3 separate regions of the Homo sapiens genome follow, and all the other regions are linked to region 3. The links are contacts of gene promoters, found by promoter capture Hi-C in human tissues and cell types (Jung and others, 2019). All regions are on one chromosome and are shown on one strand. Each heading gives the region's core, a stretch centred on a gene start or on the middle of the fragment in contact. The rest is flanking DNA. Distances are from core to core; before and after follow the strand shown.

What was found. Contacts are between HindIII fragments. The study calls those that stand out against the background at their distance.
Region 1: a contact is called between a fragment that was not itself captured here and the fragment with the promoter of MCC in region 3, in 1 of the 25 tissues and cell types used here (hippocampus).
Region 2: a contact is called between a fragment that was not itself captured here and the fragment with the promoter of MCC in region 3, in 2 of the 25 tissues and cell types used here (IMR-90 fibroblasts and aorta).

The regions. Positions count from the first base shown.
Region 1 is chr5:113,292,348-113,296,399 of GRCh38, reverse strand. All of the region lies in intron 3 of MCC (MCC regulator of Wnt signaling pathway), which reads left to right. LOC124901045 (a long non-coding RNA gene) reads right to left here and starts at 1,540. Exons shown (of 3, transcript XR_007058904.1): 1 at 1,464-1,540. RefSeq lists a silencer at 1,704-1,763. The HindIII fragment of the contact is 4,704 bases long and covers 1-4,052 here.
Region 2 is chr5:113,235,912-113,239,826 of GRCh38, reverse strand. All of the region lies in intron 3 of MCC (MCC regulator of Wnt signaling pathway), which reads left to right. Among named protein-coding and RNA genes, the nearest start is that of TSSK1B, 200 kb to the left of the region's middle. RefSeq lists an enhancer at 3,458-3,915. The HindIII fragment of the contact is 6,149 bases long and covers 1-3,915 here.
Region 3 is chr5:113,485,628-113,489,943 of GRCh38, reverse strand. MCC (MCC regulator of Wnt signaling pathway) reads left to right here and starts at 1,491. Exons shown (of 19, transcript NM_001085377.2): 1 at 1,491-1,699. The coding sequence starts at 1,530. RefSeq lists an enhancer at 1,298-1,592. The HindIII fragment of the contact is 5,374 bases long and covers 1-3,807 here.

The DNA of each region.
Region 1 (4,052 bases), core at 864-3,363, 190 kb after region 3:
CTGAACTGCAGTCGCTCCTCATTTGTACTGTGTTTATGGCAAGTATCATTTTCTATCTAGAATTGTCATTTCTGTTCATGTTTTACAAGTCTATAAACACCTTCAGGGCAGGGGCAGTGCTTGAATCTTCTTCATAGTTATGTATATACCACCATTTCCAGCTTCAAACATGCAGTTTTCAACAGATTTCAATGAAAAGATAAATTAAATAATGTAGCTTCCCATCTCCTCCCCATGCAGAATGTGCTCTAGTTTGGCAGTGCCCAAGGACTTGGGACCCAGTGCTCTAGAAAGAGCAGCAAACTCTTCCTAATCCCAGCAGCACCTCCATCAGGCAATGAATGAACTCAACAAGAAGGGGGATGGGTAAAACGTTATATGCAAATAGTTGCACTCTGCCCCTTCTTAAAGAGCAAAATAAACATGATTTTTTAAAAAGACCATGGAAGTTGACAATACAATGGCTTTTTCACAGAAGGCTTCAGGATATGCCAAGTTCTGTTATTGGGGATGGAGACATTTTGTCCCCATTGTGTAGAAAGAGACTGATGAGGTCTCTTAAGCAATCTCGCAGACCTACTGTTTTGAAGCATCAGAACATTTTTCTGTGCATCTCAAATTCATTGGAACTTTAAGTTTGTGGAGAGAAAAATCCTAGTTCCCCTCTTCCCCCATCTCATCTCTCTCCCAATAGACACAGGATGTTTTACCTCGGGAACTCAAAGTTGAAGGGGAGCTCAGATCCCAGGGGTGTACTGGGTATAACAGCCCCTTGAATCTTTTCTGAATCATACTCCACACTCCATAAATACAACTCTACCTCCGCTCAATTAAGGAAGGTCTGGGGGTTGGGGAGCCTATCTGACATCTTTCAAGGGATGGGGGTTGAGGAGCCTATCTGACATCTTTCAAGGGATGGGGGTTGGGGAGCCTATCGACATCTTTCAAGGGATGGGGCCTCTATCTTCATTATGGACATGCAGAAAATGTACTCTGCCCCAGTGACAGACAGAGGGAGTTTGACATTGAATTTACACCCGTAGCGTTGACTTTAGACTGATTAGGGAAAATGACTGCCCTGCACCCTTGTAAAATCTTAATGTTCCGTGAGAAGTGCACCGTGCTGTCTGATGTACAGTGTTTAGGTTTGTCTTGACCTTATTAAATCATGGAAAGCGGCTCCTATGAGGGAAGTTTTTTTTCTTTTTCTTTTCTTTTTTTTTTTTTAATTTCCTGCACGATTATTCAGGTGGCTTTTCCTGTTTCTACTCCCCCTCCTGGACTCGGGTCCTTAATTACTATTGCAGAGAACTGGAAGGATGCCTGCTCTGCTCTCCCAGCACGGTCTCCTCTGCTCGGCCTCCAGGCTACTCGCCCCCACCCTTTTCTCCCTCTAGCCCCGCCTCCTCCGCGCACCCCGTGGCCAGCAGCTAGACAGCTGTGTTCAATCAGAAACCACTTACAACTCCAGACGATTCGAAGGGGAAACTTCGGCGTGAAGTGCAGCTCCGCTCCGGCTCCCTCTAGCTTTCTTTCCTTCTCTGGAATCCGAGGCGCGGATCTTCCTCGCCCCACCGCCCTAGTTTTTTCGGGAGCTCGCCGGTGCCCTCTAGGGTGTCGGCTCGTGCTGGGAAGTGCCCTCCATCCTGGTAATGGGGGGCGGCGAGGCACCGTAGGAGTGGCGAGGCGGCGCCCAGGGTGGCACTGCCCCGGAACGGGGCGCTGGGTGCGCGCGGGAGGGTCCCCGCGCGGGCTCCGCCGCTGCCGCAGCTGCGAGCGCGCCGCGCCACCGAGCCTCCTGCAGCAATGGCTCGTCCGTGAAACGCGAGCCACGGCTGCTCTTTTTAAGAGTGCCTGCATCCTCCGTTTGCGCTTCGCAACTGTCCTGGGTGAAAATGGCTGTCTAGACTAAAATGTGGCAGAAGGGACCAAGCAGTGGATATTGAGCCTGTGAAGTCCAACTCTTAAGCTCCGAGACCTGGGGGACTGAGAGCCCAGCTCTGAAAAGTGCATCATGAATTCCGGAGTTGCCATGAAATATGGAAACGACTCCTCGGCCGAGCTGAGTGAGGTAAGAAACAGCTGAGGTCGGGAGCTAGGGTTTCTCGGGCGTTTGCTTTTCCACAAATCCCCCTCCCCTCGACCTCCCCACAGCCCTACACCCTATCCCCCTGTGCTCCCAGTCTGGAGGCAGCGCAATTGAAGATTAGTAGATTTTCTGGATCTTGTTTTAACTTGTAGTGCTACTCAGGAAATGACCTGAACTGGCTTGATATTTCAGTCTGAAATGAGTGGCTTAAAAAAGAAACAACCTCTCACCAAGCCGCGAGGCGTTTTACTCACGACAGTCTGCATCCCTTGTTCCTTCCCACCCGCTTCCACTAATTTATATACACCCTTTTATTTCCCTGATCGGTAAAATACACGGACATTCCCGATGAGTTTAAGCCGACGGTAACTAATTTGGTGGGGGTGGTGGTGGTGAGGGGGACGCATTGGATTATTTCATCTCCCACTTGGCTCCCACGTGCGATGCGTTTGGCTACGTTCAGGCAAGGTGGTCTCTTCCCTAGGCTGAGATGAATGACCCGCGCTGGGGAGGGGTCTGGGGAGAAAGCACTTCAAAGCCGCTTTAGAACTTTATTTCCTGCCCGGATCTGGACTCCTGAGTCTTTGAGGCAAGCGCATTTGCAATTCCTGGGCTCCCACTGTAACCTATCCACTTGAGTGTTTGAGACCAGCTTTGAAATTAAAGCTACATCAAACACTATGCAAATGTGTGAGCGGTAAGATGCCCAAAGCCATCTTTTTTCATGATTTTAGGGATGCTTCGGGCACATCCCTCAAAGCTTTGAATACCTGAAAAGTGATGAGAAGCCCGTAGAACTGGGTGCTGAAAAGAAGAGGAAGTCTGTGTGCTTAGTGTCTACAGCTAGAGGCTTGGTGTCTGTGGGTTTCCCTCTTGGTTCCATCACTGAGCCATTTATGGGGGCAAAAGTAGCATAAGTAGTCCGTGTTTCTTGAGTATGGCTGAAGAGAGGAAAGAGGAAGAAAAGGAAAACAGTGTAAAAGCAGCCGGAAGGCAGATAATGGTGATGTCAGACTACCAATGGTGAAGGGAAAAATGCAGGGATGGAGCCCCTGCGGGGGTGTGTGTGTGTGAGGGAACACCTGGTGATGGGAAAGAGGGGGGATTAAATGGGGTTGGGGGAAACCTAGGAGGTCTGCCGTCGGGCTGGTGAATGCTATTGGGCCCTGCCTGGTGCTCTTAAGTGTCATGCTGCTGCTGTGCTGTTCCTGCTCCGGTTTGAAATAGCATTTTGAGGTGCTGGCTGAATGAAGTAGAGCATTTGCTAATCCTTAACGGCTGTTGCCCCTGTGATGTAGAAGACTCAAGAAATGCTGAGAGTGAGAACTTAAAAATGGGAGGTGAGGGAGGAGGCATGAGGATTTAAGTGACTTTTGCCAATTTTATAATTAACGGTCTCAAATCTGAACTAGAACCCAGGGCCCTGCTCCATCACTAACCCTGTTTCAGGAGAAGCCTTTGGTGATCTTCTAAGGTCATTGAAAACCCCAAAACTGAAGGCATTTCTTTTGCAGAGACTCTTTGCCAGGCCCTTCACGATGTTTCTATGCAGCAGAGTGCTGTCCAGTAACCTTTGTTTAAATGAATCGCAGACTTAGGAGAAGGGGGGGCTAGAACCCTGAGTGAAGGAAGAGATGTGAATTGACTTTAGTCCTATTGGCACGTCCTTGAGCACATTGGGTGAGCAGAGAATGTGACACTCAGGTGCCACATAAAATTACCCATTTTTTTTGCCTAGTTGTATCCACTCCCTAAGTAATCCCTATAAAGCTTGTAGGCAAATGAAAGAGTTGAGAGTGCTTTGTAGTCCCTGCATTGGCTGGAAAACTATTTGAGCAGTATATGACATAATATTGTTCCTAAGGAAATAAGTTCCTTCCTCAGCTATATCCTTTACCAGATGTTCTTTTCTTCTCATCGGTGTCTGCTCATTCATTTTTTGCTTGCTTTCGAGCCAGTTTTA
Region 2 (3,915 bases), core at 738-3,237, 250 kb after region 3:
TTTGGATTTCACCCAGAGAGGAGTTGCCAGTTCACCGTGGGAAATCTGACAAATGAGAAATGTGTATATAAAAGTGAGTGTATATACCATAGTTGCCTAAAATAAGCACCCCAGGCTTAGACTGCATCCACAGAAGCCATTTCTCAATGAAGTGTTTGCCACAAATGGGCAGCACTTTGAAGTCTCAGAACTCGAGTCCTCTTCCCCATCTGGACATTACTACGGAGTTCCTTCTTAGTTATGGCTGAGCCCACATCCTCTTCTCTGGCATCATGGTCCCAGAAATCCACAAATGGATTTCAGCAAGTGTGTGACTGAAACCCTTTAAAAATGTATGAGGACAAGGTCTGCTCCACTTACCAGGTTAAGAGGGGCCTAAACTAAAGGTGTTTGAGAACTCTGCTGCATGCGAGGACCCCCTGGAGAAAGGGAGTACCCTGCTTCCTCTCAGAGCTGCCCTTTTGGGATTCCAAACTCCTATTACCCAATTTATCTCCGAAAGAGACCCACAGTATACTGGATGTTTCCATGGCAGATTTATTCCTGGGGCCGTCCCCACTGAAACATGGAACATGTTTTTCTAAAGAGATCTTGTCATCAGTATGGCAGCAAATGAAAGTAATGCTGATGTTATTGTTTCAACTAATGGTGTCCAAACTTCTCTGTTTAAATAAAGTTAGAGCTTTAACAGCTTGTATGTCCAATTTATGTATATTTACAAATTAAATACCTTTAGTACTGTATTAATGTTATATATCCTAAAAAGCAGAAATAAACTAGACGTTAAAGGATAAGATTGAAAAAAAACATATGCATGAATATTCTCTTCACATTTCGATGAATTGTCATAGTTACCTCATCTTTTAAAACCTTTGTTACCTCTGTTTAAACCCAGGAATTAAATAGATGTTGCAGAGTAAGTTGGAAATATGTACCTCTTCTTGTAACTGCTTCTTTGGAAAATATGTTTTAAGTTCTAAACAACCATTTTACAAAAATTGGAAATGCCATTTTGTTAAAAATTTGAGACCATTAGTCTTTTTCTCTTGCCATATTGGATCACCTTGATAGTCGAGGCAAACCATGGTAAGAATGGAATTGCAGTCTTTCCACATCCCATACCCATTGGCATGTGGGAGGATGAAACTAATCAAATGTGCTGACATTTTTTTCTAATCTCTGGTCTCTTTGTTTATACTATGAACTCAGCATTAACAGCCTTCATTTTTGAATTGTATACAACCAATAACAAAATCTTAAATTTGGGGAAAATCTGTAAGCAAAATTGGGTCTGTCGTAAAGCACCAGGATTTTTTTGTTAGTTTGTTTTAAAAGCTTTATTGAAGAGTCTTTTTAGGAGAGAGAGTGAAATGCAGGACTTGCTTTCTTATGGGTCATCTGTCATGTATAATTGCCAAATAGGAAATAGGAGAAAAGACTGGAATGAAATATACAAAATTCTACCATTAGTTGTGGATAGTGATTTTTTTAGGTGGCATTTTCCCTTCATTTCTCAGTTTTTAGTGAAATAATTGCTTTGATTAAAAAAAACAGGAAAAAATGTTTCCAAATATTACTGCCTTTCTGAAAAGTGCCAGAAGCTCATCAGTTTGATTTAATGTCTATTTCAACAGTGGTGCCTCTACCCCCAAAGCCTGGTAATTTTTGCATCTGAGTTTAAGTGACTGGTTGCATGCATTTTGCTGTGAGTGCTACTTATGCCATGAGGGAAGCCAGATATAGCTGCATTCTTGATGTCTGTCTGATATCAGTCTTGCAGCCAGAAATTTTTGAGCTCTCTTTGGTAAAGGAGAGAAAATCCACAAAGCATGCTTCCTCCACCTCTGTTTCCCTACTTCAGTTTTTTCCCTCCCCAGCTCCCCAAACCATACTCATTCATGGAAATTATTTTTCTGCTGTCACTGGAAAATAATACAACTCTGATACTTCAGGCATGAGATGACTCTGATTGTTTTTCAGTGTTCTTGCCTTAGACAAAATTAAATCACCGGCAGTGTGTCGCATCCAGCCAACATCAAAGCTCTTGTCTGGGTTCTATGAGAGCCTTGCAAGTTTCTGAATCAGTCAGAAATTATCGCGGAGCTGAGACTAATCAATGAGGAAGTTCCATTTTATTTTTCAAATATAATTTCTCTTGTAGCCCATGTGTGTGCTTGTGATTTCTCTAAAATACAGCCGGCCCGTTTTCCCCTGGCCCGTGTTTCCTCCCAGTGCCTTGGTGACTGCTGTCATTTTAATGCAAGTAACCCTTCTTGGCAGAAATAAGATTAGGTAATTTTCTGACCTTCTAATCCCAGAGGCACCAATTCTCCTGGCTTGCCATTTTGTTTTTAGGTTTTTCCATAAAAATATTTTTGAACATTAAATGGGTAGTGGAAGCAGTTGGTATTTGCTTTTCATGGAACACATTTATTTCCGCATATCAATGAAAATAACCAAGTCATATTAAAATATTTTTGTGCTACAAAATTCAGAAATTTTTGTGGTATTAGCTTTAAGCATAATGGCCCAAAATGTAGTCATTAAAAAGTAGAAGTAAAATGTTCACATTTTTGCCTCAGTGATCTCAGTAGTATATTTATACCAATTAAATATTTAACTTACATATAAACCATATTCTGTGGTTACTCCTGAGAAGCAAGATACTTAGTGGATTGTATACGCCATGATTTATTCCCTGAAGGCGTATACATTTCCAAGTTTCCTTTGAACAGGCAAGTTCAGTCAATTAGCAAGTATTTAATGAATTCCCCAAGGACTTCCAGTGGATCAGGAGCCCCGTTGCCACTTTCCTTCTCAATTTTTTCAACTTGACAGAGTGAAAACAACTGACATTCAGAGTCTAATTTCTTTCAGTATATTCATTGCAGCTTTATGTTTTTAAGACTTCATGATAAATTCAGTCGAGGAAGAAAAGAGTGGGAATGCTCTCCTGGTCCAGCCTCCCAGCGAAGCCACCCACCAAGTGTAGCCACCCCGCCTGTCCCCCGTCCCCCTGAACAAACATCCGATCAGTTTGAGGAGGGAGGGAGGGGCCTTAGTTCTCCTCTCTGTGTATTCTTCTGGCTTTTTATCTGCTCTGCCCTAACCTAGGTGTTCAGCTTAATCATTTATTGTACCTCAGAGTGACTCACTTGGAAATTGTAATATTAATCGTTGGCAACGCTAACAGTGAAGATAAACATTATAATGGCACTCAATTATATGCCTGGACTCATTGTAAGTATTTTATAATTCATAATCTAATGAATCTTCAACTACCTCAACAACCCTAGACATAATTATCCCCATTTTTCAGATGAGGAAGTGGAGACACAGAAAAAATTTAAGTAACATGTCCAAAGTCAAATAGCTAGTAAGTAATACAACTGAGATTTAGTCATGGGAGTGTGGTTCCAAGAGCCCATGCTCTTATCCTCGATACTGCCTTTCTCTGGTCCCGGAAAGCTTTTCTGCCACCAGCATTTCTAGAATTTATTGAAATTTGCATTCCAGATTATTGGTGTCCTTCTTGGTTTATGCAGCAAATGCAGCAATATTATTTCAAACCTAGGCTCAGGCATATTGGTTTATGCTGCAAATGCAGCAATATTATTTCAAACCTAGGCTCAAGCATACCTCACCTCTCTCAGCTGCCATCTCATATTGTCATGGGAGTGTGACTCATTCTGCAGATCAGAGAGCCTTTAAAAGAGGATCTTGCAGCCAGCATTTTTACCTGTCATAGAATTTACTCTTCAAAGGCACCCAAGGGGCCCAACCTGAACATGAGGAAATCCGACCTACCTAGGTTAGAAGACCAAGGAAATGGTAGCGGGAACATCACCAAAGCTGCCTCAATCTTCTGAACTCTCTAAAACTTTAGCAGACTCTGACCGAATTTTAACGGCTACC
Region 3 (4,316 bases), core at 242-2,741:
GCAGTTGCAGCATCTAGAGCTAGCATCATCTCTCACTCATGTCTGGCACCTAGTCTGGGAAGATTCTAAGATCCAGGGCTAGAACAGCTGTAGCTCTTTGGTCATCTCCTTTTTTCTTTACATGGTCTTTCTGCATGGTTTCTCCAGCTTCAGGGTAGCCAAACTTCTTTTCAGGCAGCTCAAGGCTTCAAAGGTAAGTGTCCCAAGGGAGAGAGCCAAGTGCAATCTGCATTGCCTTTTCTAACCTAGTCTCAGAAGTCAAGGCAGTCACAAGTCCAATCCAGGTTTAGGGGAAGCAACAGACTCCACCTCTTGATGAGGGGTGCACCAAAGAATCTGTGGACATATTTTAAAACCACCAGAGAACTTCACACGCCTCTCTGGCAGAAAATCCAGGACAGAATAATGAGTCATTCACGAAACCACAAATTGCTTCACTGTGGTTTCCCTTTGGCTATGGGGGAATAGTGCAGTGTTTAAAGGCTCCTGCTCTGGAGTTAGGCTGCCCGGGCTTGCCTCTGCCCTAACACTTACTAAACCTGGAACCTTGAGCAGGTCTTGGTACCTCAGTTTTCTTACCTGTAAATTGGGAACAATGAGAGCTAACAGTTGTTGAGCACTTACTAGGTGTCAGACATTGTCCTAACTGCATTATGTCTGCTCTCCTTTTATATGTAAGATAACTCTATGAGGTACTTATCTATTAATACTTCCTAAGTCGTAGGATTGATAATAAAAGAGGCATCTTCCAGGTCTGTAGTGTGGATCAAATGAGACCATCTATTATGTTCGCTCTTGGCATTATTAAAGCTGTTGGGGGAAATTCTAGTGATGCCTGGCCAGTAGAGTGAGCCGTTTCCAGAAATTGACCCAACGTACACAATGCCACACAGCGTGCAGACTCTTCCCAGTACAGAGTGGGAGCCAAGATGAGGGCTGCGAGGGCCAGGTTTCTTGACAGGTGTCAAAATTTCATAAAAAGGCCAGTCATTCCGGTTCTCATTGGTGGCTATGGGTACAGAACCCGGAACAATCCTGGAGAGTGGGATTACAAGCACCGTTTTGAGTTTGCAGAAGGAGAGTGTTTATATAGCTTCTCTGGAAAAGGAAGCCATGACTCCGGGCGGTCGGAGAAGGTCTGCCGGGAGTACACCTGCCCTCTGCCTGAAGCGTCCCCAAGTGTCCCGGGCCCGCGTCGTTGCCGGATGCACAATGCTGACACCCTTCCCGGGGGCTTCCAGTGTATTCTGCCTCCTCTTGTGTTCCCGTTGCCACCCTTAGCTCCCTGACTCTTCCAGCCACCTTCCCCTCCTCCCTCTTCCCTGAGGTGCCTCCTCGGGCGATTCCAGAGCGCCCATCTTCCCAGTCCGGGCAAAACCCGGAGAGGTGGAATCCCTCGCCCGGAGCGCCCCGGCGGCCACTGGGCATGCTCCGTTGTCAGGCAAGTTCGGGGCTGCAGGCAGCTTGCGCGCCGCGCGGATTCCAGCTGCGGTCGCGCGTACTCCTCCTCCCAAGTAGGGAGCGGGCGCATGATGGCGGCCGCGGCGGCAGCGGCTGCGGGGAGCTCCAGCAGCGGCGGCGGCGGCGGCGGCAGCGGCAGCAGCAGCAGCAGCAGCGACACGTCCAGCACCGGCGAGGAGGAGAGGATGCGGCGCCTCTTCCAGACGTGCGACGGCGACGGGGACGGATACATCAGCAGGTACGCGGGGAGGTACGAGGAAACCGACAGGAGCGAGATCAGTCCCTCCGCGCGCCCTTGACCCCTGCTCTGCCCCCTCGCCCCAACTTGCGGCAAGTTGCTCAGAAGCTCGCGGGAAAAGTTGGCCGCGACTCCGAGAGCGCGTAGCCGGCTCGGCCACGAAGGCCGAGGGGACTGCTCTGTTCGCCTTGCGGGGGTGCCAGTTGGTCCAACTTTTCCCAGCGCTGTCTTTGTCTAGGCGTTGGGAGACATCTCCTTAGGATGCGCACTCTTCCGGGGGCTTGGAGTGTTCTTCCCTGTGGGAAAAGGAGTTCTGGCCGCTTGTCCCAGGTAGGAGGGGCTGCCCCACAGCCTCGGGGTCCTGGGCATCAAGATGCCGCAGCACGGGGCAGCGATCTGCCCGGCGGCTTGGTGGACACCCCAGGGCCGCACCGGGAGGAGATGAGCTAAGCGACAGCCTCGGACAGGGAAATAACCTGTGAAGAAACTTTCTTGTGCCGCAGAACCCATGAATTCCAAACTTCAGAGCCCAAAGAATGGGTATCGTTTGCCACCCAGTATTGATTTAAACGCAGTAGCCTGAGAGGAACGAAGCGCTCAGGAGCAAACTAGGGCTAGACCCGACTCCTACCCGGCTCTGTGCGCTGACCAGGTGAGCTTCGGCGTGGCTCCGGGCGCCTCCGCGCCTCCACTCACAAACAAACTTTGGGGTGTTTGCTTCGGATCCCCCGCACTTCCTACAGAGGCGGTATTTAAGCTTCCTGCCTCCCGGCTTGGCCAAATAATTACTTCTGCCCAAATTTGTGTCACTTAGACTCTTGTGGTGAAGAAGGCAATCGCAACATTTTCTGGTATGCTTCTATTGAATGGTTGACACCGGCCATTGAAGACTTGGTATCCGTGGAAATTTGAATTGCCTTGGATGAAGGAGCAGCCTAAGTTGTGCATTACATGTTTCTTTAGTCTATGTCTTGGTGATGCTAAAGATCGTTTCTGAAAATCCGGGGCTGCTTCCTGATTGTCCCTGCCTACCTAAAAAAAAAAAAAAGAAAGCAAAGTGCGGAATTTTTCCCTTAAAATAAAAAAAATTATTTATTTGGGACTCAACGCAATTTTGATCATTCTTAGGTGAATTTTTATTACTTTGCTAAAGTTTTACTGAGAAACATTAGGAAGATATCAGAAAACTTGATGGAGTAATTCTGTTCGGAAATGAAAATAATATGTAATTCTGATTGACTCCATGCAAATTTCTATCTGGAAGTCTCGTTATTTTGGTTCTGGGAGTAAAAGAAATTTCATTATATAGTTTTCCTTTTTGTTGTTTTCCTACTTGAAAGGTTATTATCTCATTTGCAATAATAAAGGCAAACTCCAACTTTGGATACAATTTTTTTTTTTTTTAGACAGAATCTCGCTCTATCACCCAGGCTGGAGTACAGTGGCGTGGTCTTGGCTCACTGCAACCTCCGCCTCCTGGTTCAAGAGATTCTCCTGCCTCAGCTTCCCGAGTAGCTGGGATTACAGGTGCCCACTACCACTCCCGGCTAATTTTCGTATTTTTAGTAGAGAAGGGGCTTCACAATTTGGCCAGGCTGGTCTCGAATTCCTGACCCTAAGTGATCCGCCCGCCTCGGCCTTAGGAAGCGCTGAGATTACAGGCCTGAGCCACCGCTCCCCGCATGGATGCAAAAAAGTTTAATTTCACACGGGCAAGAGTGCATACAGAAAACTAGCAGCGTGCTATCCTTTTCTAATTTGGCCTATTAATATATTGCTTTATCTGAACTACACTTTCTATATAAATGCTCACATTATTTTCGGTGATTCTACCCGGGAGGATAATGAATTCTGTAAGCGTAATTTGAGTAAAGTGGGTGGTGATAAAGAAGCCGTTTTGGATTAGAGTAGAAACTGGCTGGGGCAAAAGTGGAAAAAGTTGTTAACATTCCTTGAGCTGCATTACTTTAATGTGTCTGCTTAAAAGTTTCAAGGTATGTGTAGTAATGAACCCTAAATCATAACTTTAACTGTGGGTGGAGCTGCCCTGAAAATTATGCTGTGGCAGAATTGCCATGTAGGAGAAGTTTAGGGATGGCAATCTAGGGCAACAAGGAACTTGTCTGGAAGTGTGTTTACCTGGTAAGCACAGTTTTACCTGGAATTTACGTTTATGTGGTAAGACTTGGGGAATGGGGCTAATGAAGGTAAGGGGCATTAAATGATTCCCTCTCTGAAGCCACTTTTCTGTGCTGCTTTCATTTAATGACCTGTACTTACCACTCTGTAGTGGGTGATGTGGTTTGGAGGGTTGTGCATTCCTGTTCTATCAGACATGAGAGTTGGACTTTTTAACATTAAAACCTTAAAAACTTTGGATTCATCTAAAGACGTTAAATTTATGTTCCTGGTAGACAGCTGTATCTGTTAGAATTTCAGATGACTATATGTCATCACAGTAACCTAACCATAGTCAAGTAAGGGTTGGCTTTGTCACCTAGTAGAAATCTGGAGGTAGGCTATCTAGGTTGGGGCAGCAGCTCTGCGGTGGTGTCAGTCCCCAGCTACCTTCTACCTTTCTCCAACACCATTTTTCACATAAAGCATTCATCCTCAT